Linked DNA regions of Homo sapiens: region 2 is linked to region 1. The links are contacts of gene promoters, found by promoter capture Hi-C in blood cells and fetal thymus (Javierre and others, 2016). All regions are on one chromosome and are shown on one strand. The core of a region is centred on a gene start or on the middle of the fragment in contact, and the rest is flanking DNA. Distances in the headings are between cores, read along the strand shown.

Region 1 (6,978 bases), core at 2,814-5,313:
ATTCAACTATGGGACTTCCTTTAGTTGGGAAGAAATACATAATTTACTTAAAGTAGCACAGAAGAGAATGGAGTTAAAAGTTTCAAATATTCTCAATCGCCATTGTCTGTTATCAGAGTCAATGGTAAATGTTTATAAAGTGGTTACTCTATTCCCAGTTTCAGATATACTCAAACCTACCACCCTTCCTTGGAGAGTTTGTGGGGAAGAACTAGCAAATAAGTCGCTGATAAAAACTTAGAGATTATATTCATCACAATGTTATCAATCTGGGATTAGGCTGGAAACTAAAAACGGGTAAGGTTACTTGAGACTGAAAACATATGCAGGATCATATACATATTAAAAAGACAGGCCCAGTGCGGTGCCTCAGGCTGTGAGCAGTGGCTCACACCTGTAATCCCAGCACTTTGGGAGGCCGGGGGAGGGGGGCGCATTACTTGAGGTCAGGAGTTTGAGACCAGCCTGGACAATATGGTGAAACCCCCCCTCTCTACTAAAAATACAAAAATTAGCTGGGCATGGTGGTGCACGCCTGTAATCCCAGCTACTCAGGAGGTTGAGGCAGGAGAATTGCTTGAACCTGAGACAGAGGTTGCAGTGAGCCGAGATTGTACGGCTGCACTCCACCAGCCTGGGCGACAGAGTGAGACTCCATCTCAAAAAAAAGAAAAAGAAGAAATGAGGTACAGGGCTGGGCATGGTGGCTCATGCCTGTAATCCCAGCACTTTGGGAGGCCGAGGCGGGTGGATAACTTGAGGTCAGAAGTTCGAGACCAGCCTGGCCAACATGTTGAAACCCCATCTCTACTAAAAATACAAAAATTAGCTGGGCACAGTGGCAGGCACCTGTAATCCCAGTCACTTGGGAGGCTGAGGCAGAAGAATCACTGGAACCCGGGAGGCAGAGGTTGCAGTGAGCCAAGATTGCGTCACTGCACTCCAGCCTGGGCAACAGAGTGGGACTCCATCTCAAAAAAAGAAAAAGAAAGAAATGAGGTGCTAACACAATTAATAATGCTAGCATTTAGCATACTACGAGCTTCATGAGAATGAGAATTTCTATCTGATATGAACATTGCTTATCTCCAGCTGCTAAAATAGTGCCTGGCACAAAGTAGGTGCTCAATAAACATTTGTTACATGATTGTAGAAGGTATCTGGCTCAAGGAATAGGACAGATCTAAGTTCAAGTGCTAGCTCCACTTCAAACTGTGACCCTGGTAAGTCATTTAACCTCTTAAACTCTCATTTATTCATTTGTAAAATGAAGATAATAGGATATAACAGACTTGTGAGGAAGATTAAATGAGGTAATGAAAGGAAAGCATTTAGCACAGTGCTTTAAAAGCCTTAAACTTAGTAGACATGCACCGGTAGTCCCAGCTAGCTCAGAAGTTCAAGGGCATGGTGCACCATGATTGTGCCTGTGAACAGCCATTGCACTCACGCCCAGGCAACAGACAGACTCCACTTCTACAAAAAAATTTAAAAAATTAGCCAGGTGTGGTGGCCTGCTCCTGTAATCCCAGCTACTCCAGAGGCTGAGGTGGGAGGATACCGTGGAGCCCAGGAGTTTGAGGTTATAGTGGGCTACGATTGATTACACCACTGCATTCCAGCCTGGACAACAGAGTGAGACCCTGTCTCTTTAAATAATAATAATAATAATTAATTAATTAATTACGAGTGTTCAAACCCAAAGAATCAGAAGATGGGGGCACTCTCAGGACTCAGCTATATTCCTCTGGGGAGTGATATGCCCCATTTGCAAGGGGCATGATGTGGCACCTATTTTCCAAGCTCAGAACTGAGCCCTAAGAGGGCAGGGAACTTACCTGTATTGTTGGAACCATACTCCCAGCACTAAGCACAGTATGGGGCACATAGGAGGAACTGAATACATTTTTGTTGAATGAGTGACACTTTGAGGTAGTAAGGAGGAGCAGGCATACTTTCCTATGCGTCAGGCTGGCCCTGCTGCTGCTTCTTCTTCTTCTTTTTAAAAGGAGTCTCACTCTGTTGCCCAGGCTGAATGGAGTGCAGTGGCACAATCTCAGCTCACTGCAAGCTCCGCCTCCCGGGTTCACGCCATTCTCCTGTCTCAGCCTCCCAAGTAGCTGGGAATACAGGCGCCCGCCACCACACCCGGCTAATTTTTTGTATTTTTAGTAGAAACGGGGTTTCACCGTGTCAGCCAGGATGGTCTTGATCTCCTGACCTCATGATCCGCCCACCTCGGCCTCCCAGAGTGCTGGGATTACAGGCGTGAGCCACCGGGCCCGGCCGGCCCTGCTTCGTAAGAATGAAAAGGCAGTGGGCCGCCTGTAGTCCCAGCTACTCGGGAGGCTGAGGCAGGAGAATGGCGTGAAACCGGGAGACGGAGCTTGCAGTGAGCCGAGATCACGCCACTGCACTCCAGCCTGGGCCACAGAGAGAGACTCCGTCTCAAAAAAAAAAAAAAAAAAAAAAAAAAAAGGAAAAGAAAAGGCAGTGTAGGTGGTGTAGGTCAGTGGTCTAAGTTCATTCACAAAAAGCATATTAATGAAGCTAAGTCTTTTTGTTTGTTTAGAGAAGGGGTCTCACTCTGTCACCCATGACGGAGTGCAGTGACACAATCACTGCAGTCTCAAACTCCTGGGCTCAAGTGATCCTCCCACCTCAGCCTCTCCAGTAGCTGGGAGGCACAGGCCATCATACCTGGCTATTTTATTTTTTGTAGAGACGGGGTCTTGCTTTGTTGCCCAGGCTAGTCTCAAACTTCTGGACTCAAGTGATCCTTCCTCCTCCGCCTCCCAAAGTGCTGGGATTACAGGCGGGAGCCACCCTGCCTGGCCAAGAAGCTGAGTCTCAAGCTGGATAGAAGCTACTGACAGGGCTGGAAGAAGGGGGCCAACAGGAGGAATCATAACAGAGGGAACTCTGAGCAAAAGCAAGGAGGCAAGAACTTGAGTGAGTGAGAGAGTGTGTGAGTGTGTGAGAGTGTGTGTGTGTGTGTGTGTTTATGGGCTGTTTCTAATAAGCCTGACTTCTCCTGGAATCACTGAGACTTACCTGCTGCCAAGACATGTCCAAAGATGACCTCAGACACATCTTCCGGAGCCACAGTGGCCCTCTTCAAGACTTCTTTGATGACAGTGGAGCCCAGGTCCTGGACAGGAACAGCAGCTAAGGCACCATTGAAGGAACCTACAATAGAAAGGCGGAGAGCGTGGACATCACAAGCCTGCGGGTAATACGGGAACCACCTACGAGCAGGGGAGCCTCATGACCCTGTTTGGCAAGGCCACGCGAGGAGGCAGTGCCCTCTCCTCCCACACGTTCCTACACCTGCTGGTCTGAGCAAAGGTCAAGGTGGGTGCCACAACTCGCAGCAGCCGAGGGCTGGACAGGCGACCTCCAGAACGGCCTAGGGACGCCGCTGTAGCCCTTCTATTTCCCCAAATCCGAAGGACTGGATGCGACCCCATGCTTCCCAAACAAAAGGAACCGGCGGGTCAAGGGCGTTGAAAACCATGCGGCACGAAGGAGACGAAGTCACGACTTCTAGCCATTGTGTGACAGCCCGACCCCAGCCCAAAGCCGGGCTCAGACCACCTAGCAGTTCCGCCCCTGCCGCAGGCATTACCGATGGCGCCTCCCGGAGCCGGCCAATCAGGGGCCCCGGAGGAGAACACCTCCCTACGCCAACCAATGGGAGAGGCAGGCCACGCGATGGCTCTACCCCGGGAGCCAATCCAAGCACGAGGGACGGAGTGCGCACATCGGGAGAGGAGAGGGTGGGGCTGTAGCACCAGGTCAGGGAACGCGGGAGCCGCAGGGTTCCAGGGATCCCGCGGCTCCTCGCGGCTTGGCCTGACCGGCTTCCTCCACATACGCCCCTCTCCTACACAAGTCCGGCCCTCGGCGCTCCTGCCGAAGCAGCAGGCGCCTCGGACTCTGCGCGGCTCCCGCCGGCCACTCACCTATGATGGTCCGCGCCGCCGAGACGATGACCACAGGATCTGAGCCTGCATTCATCTTGCTTCTCCTGCCGCCGTCTGCCCTGCGCTGCCTGCAAGCTAGGCAAAGCTCCTCCTCGCAGCCCACAGGCCTGCCGCGGGCGGGACCTGAGGTAGCCCCGCCCCTCGCCCTCCACCTCCCCGCGCACCACCTCCCCGCGCATCCCACTGTGCGCAGGCGCAAGGCCGGAGCAGGGGCGGGCGGAGGCGCGCGGGGCGCGGGGCGCGGGGCGCGGGGCGGAAGTGAGGCCGGGGCGCGGGGCGCGGGGCGGAAGTGAGGCCGGGGTCTGGGCTTGCGGGCAGAACCGCGGACCTCGGACGCATTTACAGAGCGCCTGAAACCCCAGTGTTTCTGGACACCCCAATGTTGGAGTTCCCCGACTTGACGTCTTGGGCTTTTTTTTAAAAAATCTTAGGGTTTCTCGAAACAGTAAAGACTGGGGGGTGACAAAGACTTATCTCTCGTTCAGCTCAGGACTGGAATCCCACGGGCGAGAATCTCGAGTGCGAGCCCGGCCCGCGGCGGGTCTCAGCACAGCTCTGATGGGTCCTTTTGCTCTCGGCGGCTTCGGGAGGTCCTATGCGTTTCTCCTGGCGCCAGTCATTCGCTCGCGTGAGGGGCTTGCTAGGAGCGTCTCGGTGCGAGCCCCCTGCCTTCTAAGATCAACTCTGGCTGTGAACGGGTGAGGACGCCGGGAGCGTCTTAGCGTCACAAAAGTTCCTTTGGTTGACGTTTGGACAGTGAAAGGAGCATGTAACAAGTGGGGTCAGTTTTGTTTAAAACCCTTTCTGACTTCCCAGCCTCTTACTGGGCAAAGTTCATAATTTTTCTGAGCTTTCTAGGGTTTCCAGGCAAGCTTATGAGGGGCCACCGTTACAGCAACTTGTTGGGAACACCTGGATAGTGGAACAAGAAAGCTTTGTCACAAAGTCATGAAGGGGAAAACTGTTGACGGACCTGGAGAATCTTCCTGAAGAACTTTAAAGTTGATTGAAAGAATCATTAAATCCTGGAAACCTACATTAAGACTTTGCAGAGATATGCGGATGGGTCAGATAAATCAGAGAAGGTAAAGAGTGTAGGCCCCAGAGGTGGGGCAATAGAGAAGGAAAAAAATTGCATAACAGTGCAATTTCAGGAGAAATCTTTAGGGTCTGGAATAGTGGTGAAATCAGCTGTCTACTCTGCTAAGAACTCAGCAGCACACTGAAGTCTCTTCAGTTGTCTTCAATGTGTTTCCTGTCCCCTAACATATCTGAGTCCAAGGAATTCAAGGAATGCCTCCCGTGGCTTTTGCTCTATTCTATCCCATTTTCCCCTTACTCCCTGGCCACTTCTGAGTCTTTGTGGGCTTACTCTCACATCCCCTTAACATGTTCCCCAAGGCTCCTACTTTGCACCAGCTCCCTGGGTAATACCAGTCATTCCTACGGCATCAATCACCACCTGTATACTGACAAGTCTGAAATCCTTACATCTAACCTCGTCTCCTAAGCTGACTGACCCTCTTCATTTAAATTCTTACAAGCACATCAGGTCGGGCACCTTGGCTCACACCTGTAATCCCAGCACTTTGGGAGGCCGAGGAGGGCGGATCATTTGAGGTCAGCAGTTTGACACCAGCCTGGCCAACATGGTGATATCCCGTTTCTACCATAAAATAGAAAAATTAGCCGGGCGTGGTGCCGTGCGCCTGTAATCCCAGCTACTGGGGAGGCTGACATGGGAAAATCGCTTGAACCTAGGAGGCAGAGGTTTCAGTGAGCCGAGATCACACCACTGCACTCCAGCCTGAGCGACAGAGAGAAACTGTCTCAAATAAATAAAATTTCCTATAAGCACATCAAATTTGACATATTGAAACCAAACTCTTCCAGCCTGTTTCTTCTGTAATCTCAGTGAGCAGTGAAACTATCTTCTGTTAACCAAACCAGAAATTTACCTCTGAAACTCCCCCTAAACATCACTTCTTCCAGAAAAACCTTCCAATCTCCTGCATTTGGTGCAGCATCTTACCCCTAACTTCCTCTTTCAACTTACCATGTAATTCCTAGTTTATCTGTCTCCTCTACTGACTACATAAGCTTTCCAAGATGATCCTGTTACACTGCTTTATGCACAGCTCCTAGCACATTATAGGCAGTTATGAATGAACACCAATATTCTTTATGGCCAGTGCCTAGCACATTTGAATGAGTATGAATATATTCTTCTGGAGCCAAGGGATATAGAGTTTCCTGCCTGAAGGCTCTATCTAGAGTAAGTTTAGGAGCCAATCTTGAGAAGGTAATTGCATGCTTCTGCTGAGTGGCCAAACAGAATCTGTCCCCTGAGGAGTCCTCATTATAGCTACTCATATGATTATCTACTCATATGAGACAGACAGAGACTAAGAATAATGAATGAAGGAAAGAAGAGGAATTTTTTTTTTTTTTTTGAGACGGAGCTCGCTCTGTCACCCAGGCTGGAGTGCAGTGGCGCTATCTCGGCTCACCACAACCTCCACCTCCCGGGTTCAAGCGATTCTTCTGCCTCAGAGTCCTGAGTAGCTGGGATTACAGGCCCGTGCCATCATGCCCAGCTAATTTTTATATTTTTAGTAAAGACGGGGTTTCACCATGTTAGTCAGGCTGATCTCGAACTCCTGACCTTGTGATCCGCCCACCTCGGCCTCCCAAAGTGCTGGGATTACAGGCGTGAGCCACCGCGCCCGGCCAGCTGGAAGATAATTTTTAAAATTATGTCTTGGCCGGCCGCGGTGGCTCATGCCTGTAATCCCAGCACTTTGGGAGGCCGAGGCGGGCAGATCACCTGAGGTCGGGAGTTCAAGACCTGCCTGACCAACATGCAGAAACTCTGTCTCTACTAAAATACAAAATTAGCTGGGCGTGGTGCCACATGCCTGTAAATCCCAGCTACTAGGGAGGCTGAGGCAGGAGAATTGCTTGAACCTGGGAGGCGGAGGTTGTGGTGGGC
Region 2 (6,438 bases), core at 538-3,037, 6.8 Mb after region 1:
TTAGGAGGGAGAGCAGAGCGCGCGCGTAAATCCTAGAGAGGCGGGCTAAGCTGGACTGGGGGGAGGGTCCGTCTTCCGGAAAGTCTGGATTCCCGGACGAGCCGAGTTGCTGCTCACCGAACTCCCGTTCGAGAGATGATCGAAGAAAGTCGGCTACCATTTGTACCCATCAAAGATCTCCAGATGGAAGCCAGCGCTGAATTTGGGCTGAGATTAGGACTTGCAGGAGGCCGGTCCAGAAGACGGCGGAAGGAATCTTGGCGGGCGCACGCATGCGTGATAGACCCTCCACACGTGTGGCCGGGCCGCGGCCTCCCCGTGCTCGGAGGTCCCGCCCCCGGCCGTAGCATCTTTCCGGACGTGGGGAGCCGGTAAGCTGGAAGGGGGCTGGGCTTCGCGGCTCGGCCCCGCCTCGGCAGCCTCCAATTGGGCGCGGACGAGGGCGCCCCCACCCACTGCCCTCCTATTGGTGCGCGCATGCAAGCGACGCGTCTCATTGGACCGCGCGGATTTAGGCACCAAATTCAAAGATTTTAAAAGTACCAGCTGGCGCCTTTTAAGAGATACAGGTCTGTGAAGCAGGCAGGTTGCTCAGCTGCCCCCGGAGCGGTTCCTCCACCTGAGGCAGACTCCACGTCGGCTGGCATGAGCCGGCGCCCCTGCAGCTGCGCCCTACGGCCACCCCGCTGCTCCTGCAGCGCCAGCCCCAGCGCAGTGACAGCCGCCGGGCGCCCTCGACCCTCGGATAGTGAGTGAGGGGAGCGGTCGCGAGGGGGGCGCGCACGCCAGGAGGGGTGCACGGGGAGGGTCGCAGCCTGAGACCCTGACCCGACGTCCCTCGGAGCCTGGACGCGCGGCCATGCCACACGCCCGGCCTCGGGCGGCGGCAGCGGTTCCTGGGTCCGGGAGGAGGGCGGCTGGGTGTCGGGGGGAAGCCAGAAGAGCCAGATGTGCAGGGGCGGGATGGCGGGCCGCGGGGTCCCGCCACCCACGCCGACCGTGGACTCCAGCCCCGGGAGGTGCGGGTCGTGGCATCCCAGGGCGCCCTTTTTCCTCCTCGGAAGACCCACCTACCCCACCCTGCTTGAATAGGCGCCAAATGCCCCTCCCCTCCCCCACCCCGGGGCCCCCGGCGGTGACAGGGCTGCGAGCGAGAAGCCCCCAGGGCCTGGCCAGGTGCCTCACCTTCTCCCCCTGCGCCCCTTTTCTACATCTGCCCCGCACCCTCACAGCCAAAGGCAGTTTCCCCGATTTTTCGCGGTCCCAGCCTTGCTGGCGGGCGCGGGAGATCGCGCTCGCGGTTATCTCCCGCCTCCTCCGCGTGTCCCGCGCCCTGAGGGGCAGCCCCACCGATCCCTCAGGAGTTCCAGGGTCTCCCTCCCCACTCCCGCCAAATGGAGAGACACCCCCCCAACTCATTGGACCAAACTCAACTGGGACATCCAAACAAAAACGTTACTTTTTCCCAATTTTTTCTCCCTTTGCCCGTTAACCCAGTCTCAGGGCCTGGAGTGGAAAGGGAAGACTTTAAAAAAAGCAATTTTTACTACGAACCTTGAATTTGTCCATAGTATTAAGATGATTTTGTAAGAATCGAAGAATTGGTGACTTTTTCCCGATAACTCATGAAGAATTAGATAGTCCTTTATTTCAAAGCTTGCAGAGAATGGAATGCACTCAAATGCTTATTTTTATCCTCTTTGTTGCTACCTCTAAATAAAATCTATATGCACTTATTTTTACCTGAGAAATAACCCAAAATGAAAAAATTTAGCAATTCGGCATTGTACTATTTTGTAATGACTCTATTATTAAAAAAGAACTCTAGAAAAAAATACTTAATTTTAATTTTAATAGATTAAATATATTTCTAGAAGATCCTGGATCGTCAGTCTACCATCGAAATTCTGAAGCTTGATGGCCTTATGAGGGTTTTTTTTTTTTCTTTTTTGATAACTCTAATTGTCTTTACTACCTTGCTCCTCAGAAAGAAATGACTGCCTGTTGGAATTTTTTCCCCAGTTTACAGGTTTGAGGAGATGAAATTAAAAATACATATATGTTACTTCCAAGTAGTTTTCAAAGGAGGCTTTTGTAAAATTTTCTCTTAAAGATTACTTTATGGTCACAAGCATTGGGCCTCTTAAATTCTTAAGGAATAGCCATGCCTAACGTTGACCACATGGTCGTTATCTGTAGGTATTAGAGACTGGAACTTAATTATTTAACAGAAGAGTTACAAAGATTTTTAAGGACTGCAGCCTTATTTATGATATTTGATATGGAGGATCAGGTCTATATTGAAAAGTTAAATGTAAGATCAAACATTGTAAAATTTACTTTTCTCTATATGACTGGGCTGGGAGTTGGTAAATGAGAAGTTTAAACAATGCCATGTATGAGTCTTATTAGTGTCTGCACTTGGGGGAAAAATAGGAATAGGACATTCCAAGTTCACAAAGCTAGTCAAAAGGCTAAGCAAGGATTTTCATTCAAACTTGGATCTGATTCTTAAATCTATACATTCTAATGGAAAAGTATGTGTTACTCTGAAATATATACTTCTTTGTGAAATGTGTTTTACTACTTTCAAATGTTAATGATTGTCAATGTAAGGAATATGAAGGGATTTGGCTTATGTGATTAAAAATAGATTGTATTGACTAGACCCTTGTGATAGGGACTTTGCCTTGCATTTAGTCCTGTTTCATTGTCTTACTCCCATTTTATGGATGAGGAAAGTGAGGTTTTAAGAGTTAACTTCTTCAGTTTTCCATACTCAGTAAATAGCACTGTATACCTTCGATACTCAAGACTTAAACCCCAGGGTGTTTTTTTACTCTCCTTTTCTTCATATCCAGATCTAGTAGATTAGCAGCAAGTTGACTTTACCCTTCTAAATAACAGACCTTGAATTTATGCAGTTATTTTCATTTCCACTACAATCCTTCTAGTCTGGGTTTCCCACACTCTACTTCTGTCATAAACACTTCTAACTATTCTCTCTGCTTCTACTTACCTTCCTGCAATTCATTCTCCACAATTGCCAATGATCTTTTAAAAATGTAAACCAAATTTCTCCACTTTTGACCCAGCCTACCCCACAAATCTGCAGATCATTCTACTTCTTCAACTATAATTTTCAATAACCTCCCCCAACTCAGCCCTACAGATATTTCTCTTCCTTGAACACTCACATTTTTCCTTGCTTCCTGTGTTTCCCACCATCTGGAACTCCTCCACCAGATTTCCATAAGGTGTTCAGATCTCAGAATGTCAGCTTTGCTGAAAGATCATCCCTAATTAATATCTTTCTCTCTCCCTACCCTGTCACTGAATGGATGTTGGATAAATAAGTGAAATGGTTCAACTGAACTCTTAGCCCTCATCTGTTTCATTCAAGAGGTTATGAAGCCATATAATGTTTTCTGTCTTTCTGGATAATAATTATATGAATACTTCACATATTTCCCAAATTTGGCCTGGTCATTGGAAAACACTTAGCTAGTTAAAAGGAATGGATTTAACCTTTTGCAAACAGTTGCTTCAGCTTCCATTTTTATAAAATATGATGCTATTCTATTTCTTCTGCAGTATTGTTATGGAAATGAAAAATACATTAATTTCATATTTTAAAATTAAATCTACAACCAACATCCAGATTTCACTCTCATTTAATACCTTTTTCCAAAAAAAAGGAAACCACAGTGCTTGGAGAAATGACTGATTCTAGGGCTGAAACGGAAATTATAAGATGCACTTAGAGCATCTTGTAGTCCCAGAAAGTAAGGGATGTTCAAAACACAAAATGATTTAAGTATGTGAAATGGACACCAATGTCAACTGCAAGAGCTCACAATAGCAAAAGCTGGAACAATTTGAGCAATACAGTAAATAGTATTGGATTATAACCCAAAGTCTATGAGTTTATACTGATATAAATGATTGGTAGTATGAATAAATAGGAGATTAATGGACAAATCTGCTGTAAAGAAGAATTCCAAATGATTTATAAATTTACTCCCCACTCCTTTAAGTGTGAGGTGTACATAGTGACTTCCTTCCAAAAAGTTTCAAATGGAAAAAGAACAAAAAGGAGTAACTTTACATTTGGAGCAAGCTCAGAAATACTACCTCAGCCAAGTAATCAAGGCTAACAACAGTTCAAATCATAGCACCTTACCTCTGGTCTAAAAACCCACAGCCCCAGACTAAGGCTGAGAAAAACTTGACAAATCCTAATTGTGGAACAGGCTACAAAATAACCAGTATTTCTCAGAGTTGTCAAGGTAATTATAAACAAGGAAATTGTCATAGTCAAGAGGAGCCTAAGGAGATATGATGACTAAATGTAATGTATCCTGGATAAGACCCGGGAACAGAAAAAAGATTTTAGGTAGAAACTACAGCAGTCCACATAAAATAGGGATTTTAGTTAATAATGCAACAATATTGGTTAATTTGTTGTGACATGCATTACTGTTAGTAATATAAGTTAAGCAATGGGTGTACAGGAATTCTGCACTATCCTTGCAGCTTTTCTGTGAATTCAAATAAGTTTATTAAAATTCTTTTAAAATACTAAACCTTTTTTTTTCTTTTTTCTTTTTTTTTAAGACAGGGTTTCCCTCTGTCTTCCAGGCTGGAATGCAGTGGTATGATCACAACTCCCTGCAGCCTCAACCTCCCGGGCTCAAGCAATTCTCCCGCCTCAGCCTCCCTAGTAGTTGGTACCAAAGGCACATGCCACCATGCCCAGCTAGTTTCTTTTTTTAATTGTTGTAGAGATGGAGTCTCTTTATGTTGCCCAGACTGGTCTGAACTCCTGAGCTCAAGCAGTCCCCCAACCTCAGCCTCCCAAAGTGTTGGGATTATAGGCATGAGCCACTGCACCTTACCTAAATACTAAATCTAATTATCCATGTGAAAATACTGTTGTTGCAAGAGGAACGTGGTAGTCATTTTAACTCCTTAAGTGCTAATTTCGTGAGGAAGAGTACAGATTCTAATGTTGGTATTAGCTAACAAAAAAAAATGGGAAACACATTTTTATATCATATGTCTTCATTGTGTCAGGCACTGCCATTTGCTTGGATTTTGTCATAAGCAGTAACAGTTATGTCTGGCCTTTAAGGAAATTAAAGTACTTTTTAAAATTTCAATTTGGTAGTGCTTTAGAGTAGAGTTTGATGAGGTCTGAGAAGTCCCCCGCCCCCCCCCCCCCCCCAAAAAATGAAGCTCTCCATGATTAATGGATTAGAAGCTAAATAAGCAAAGGAAGTGGAAAAGATTCTAAGCAGGGAAAGGCATGATGTACAAAGCCCCTGGGATGGAAAGGTCATTGTTACTAAGGACTGGAAAAGGGCCAGCTCACATGAGAAAAGAAACGTACACATTTTCTTCTTTAGTACCTTAAGTGCGCTTGCAACATAAATTCTGACTTTTCTATCATTTTTATAAACAGTATGAATGTTATTTGTAAGATCTGTTTTTCCAGAGCACCTCATTATAATGAGGAAGAGAAATCTGGCTCATTTAATTAACTGCCTGTATTGGGCAAACTAAGCTACACTTCAGTGTGCTCAATTGTAAAAATAACAATTCCCCATCCTACCTCAAAAGGTTTGTAAGCATTGGAAATTGCAAACTTCTAAACAAATATAAAGGATTTGCATCATTATTAGCTCTAATTTTAAGGAACTGTCCATATTCAAAGAACAGTGTTGAATGAAAGAGGTTCTATAGGACAACCCCCCAGTAACTGTTCTAAAGACAGCAGAAAGAGAATGACTTTGAATTCCTGAAGTATTTTCAGGCCTTTTTGGTTTAGGCAGCTAAACAAAGCAGAGTGTGCCCTTCATAAGTGGCTTCTGCTTTTTTATCCTGTCATGTAAATTGTGGTCATATATAAATCAAACCTAATTCTTTAGTTGATTTGAGGCAAAAATAGAGGCAATCTCTTGGCATTTTTTACTTTTCCTCTGAATAAAACTAAACCACTCAGAATCATTTGTTCTAGGTTTAGGGTTAATTAGGGAGCTAGAATTTGTATATTCTTTGCTTTTTATGCAGCTGAACCCTTAATTTTAGGTTTAGTAGGATCCTGGAGCACATACTATGTGTCTTTCACTGTATTAACATTGGGAATTTACAAGCAGTTTCTCTCTACAAGTTACTTTCTATGAAGGTATCCATTTCTACTTTGAGTTAAAAAGTTTTGCTCTATGTAAAAAATGGTTAAGTTTTATATGAACGCATTACCAATATTTAGTGCAGACTAAACATACTGATGCTGTATACATTTACTTACAGGATAAATTGTTAGCTATATATGATTGGCTTGTGTGGGGATGGTAGATGGGGCACATTTTAACCTGGCATTTAAGATTCAGGCTTTCTTAGCTCATGTCCCCATTGTTTGCCTACTCTTACTCTCTG

What was found. The method cuts DNA at HindIII sites, captures the fragments that hold promoters and counts their contacts. A CHiCAGO score of 5 or more calls a contact.
Region 2: a fragment that was not itself captured here is called in contact with the fragment with the promoter of ACAT2 in region 1 in 1 of 17 cell types (fetal thymus); the score reaches 5.8 in fetal thymus.

Annotation. Positions count from the first base shown.
Region 1 is chr6:159,759,130-159,766,107 of GRCh38, reverse strand. ACAT2 (acetyl-CoA acetyltransferase 2) reads right to left here and starts at 4,063. Exons shown (of 9, transcript NM_005891.3): 1 at 3,966-4,063; 2 at 3,055-3,189. The coding sequence starts at 4,020. SOD2-OT1 (SOD2 overlapping transcript 1) reads left to right here and starts at 3,776. Exons shown (of 2, transcript NR_037166.1): 1 at 3,776-4,114; 2 at 4,472-5,850. It also overlaps a transcript of SOD2 not described here. RefSeq lists enhancers at 2,182-2,682, 4,751-4,810 and silencers at 4,091-4,240, 4,261-4,320. The HindIII fragment of the contact is 5,525 bases long and covers 1-4,860 here.
Region 2 is chr6:152,977,167-152,983,604 of GRCh38, reverse strand. It overlaps FBXO5 (F-box protein 5), which reads left to right and starts at 564. Exons shown (of 5, transcript NM_012177.5): 1 at 564-748. The coding sequence starts at 646. RefSeq lists an enhancer at 11-230 and silencers at 261-580, 1,061-1,130. The HindIII fragment of the contact is 257 bases long and covers 1,659-1,915 here.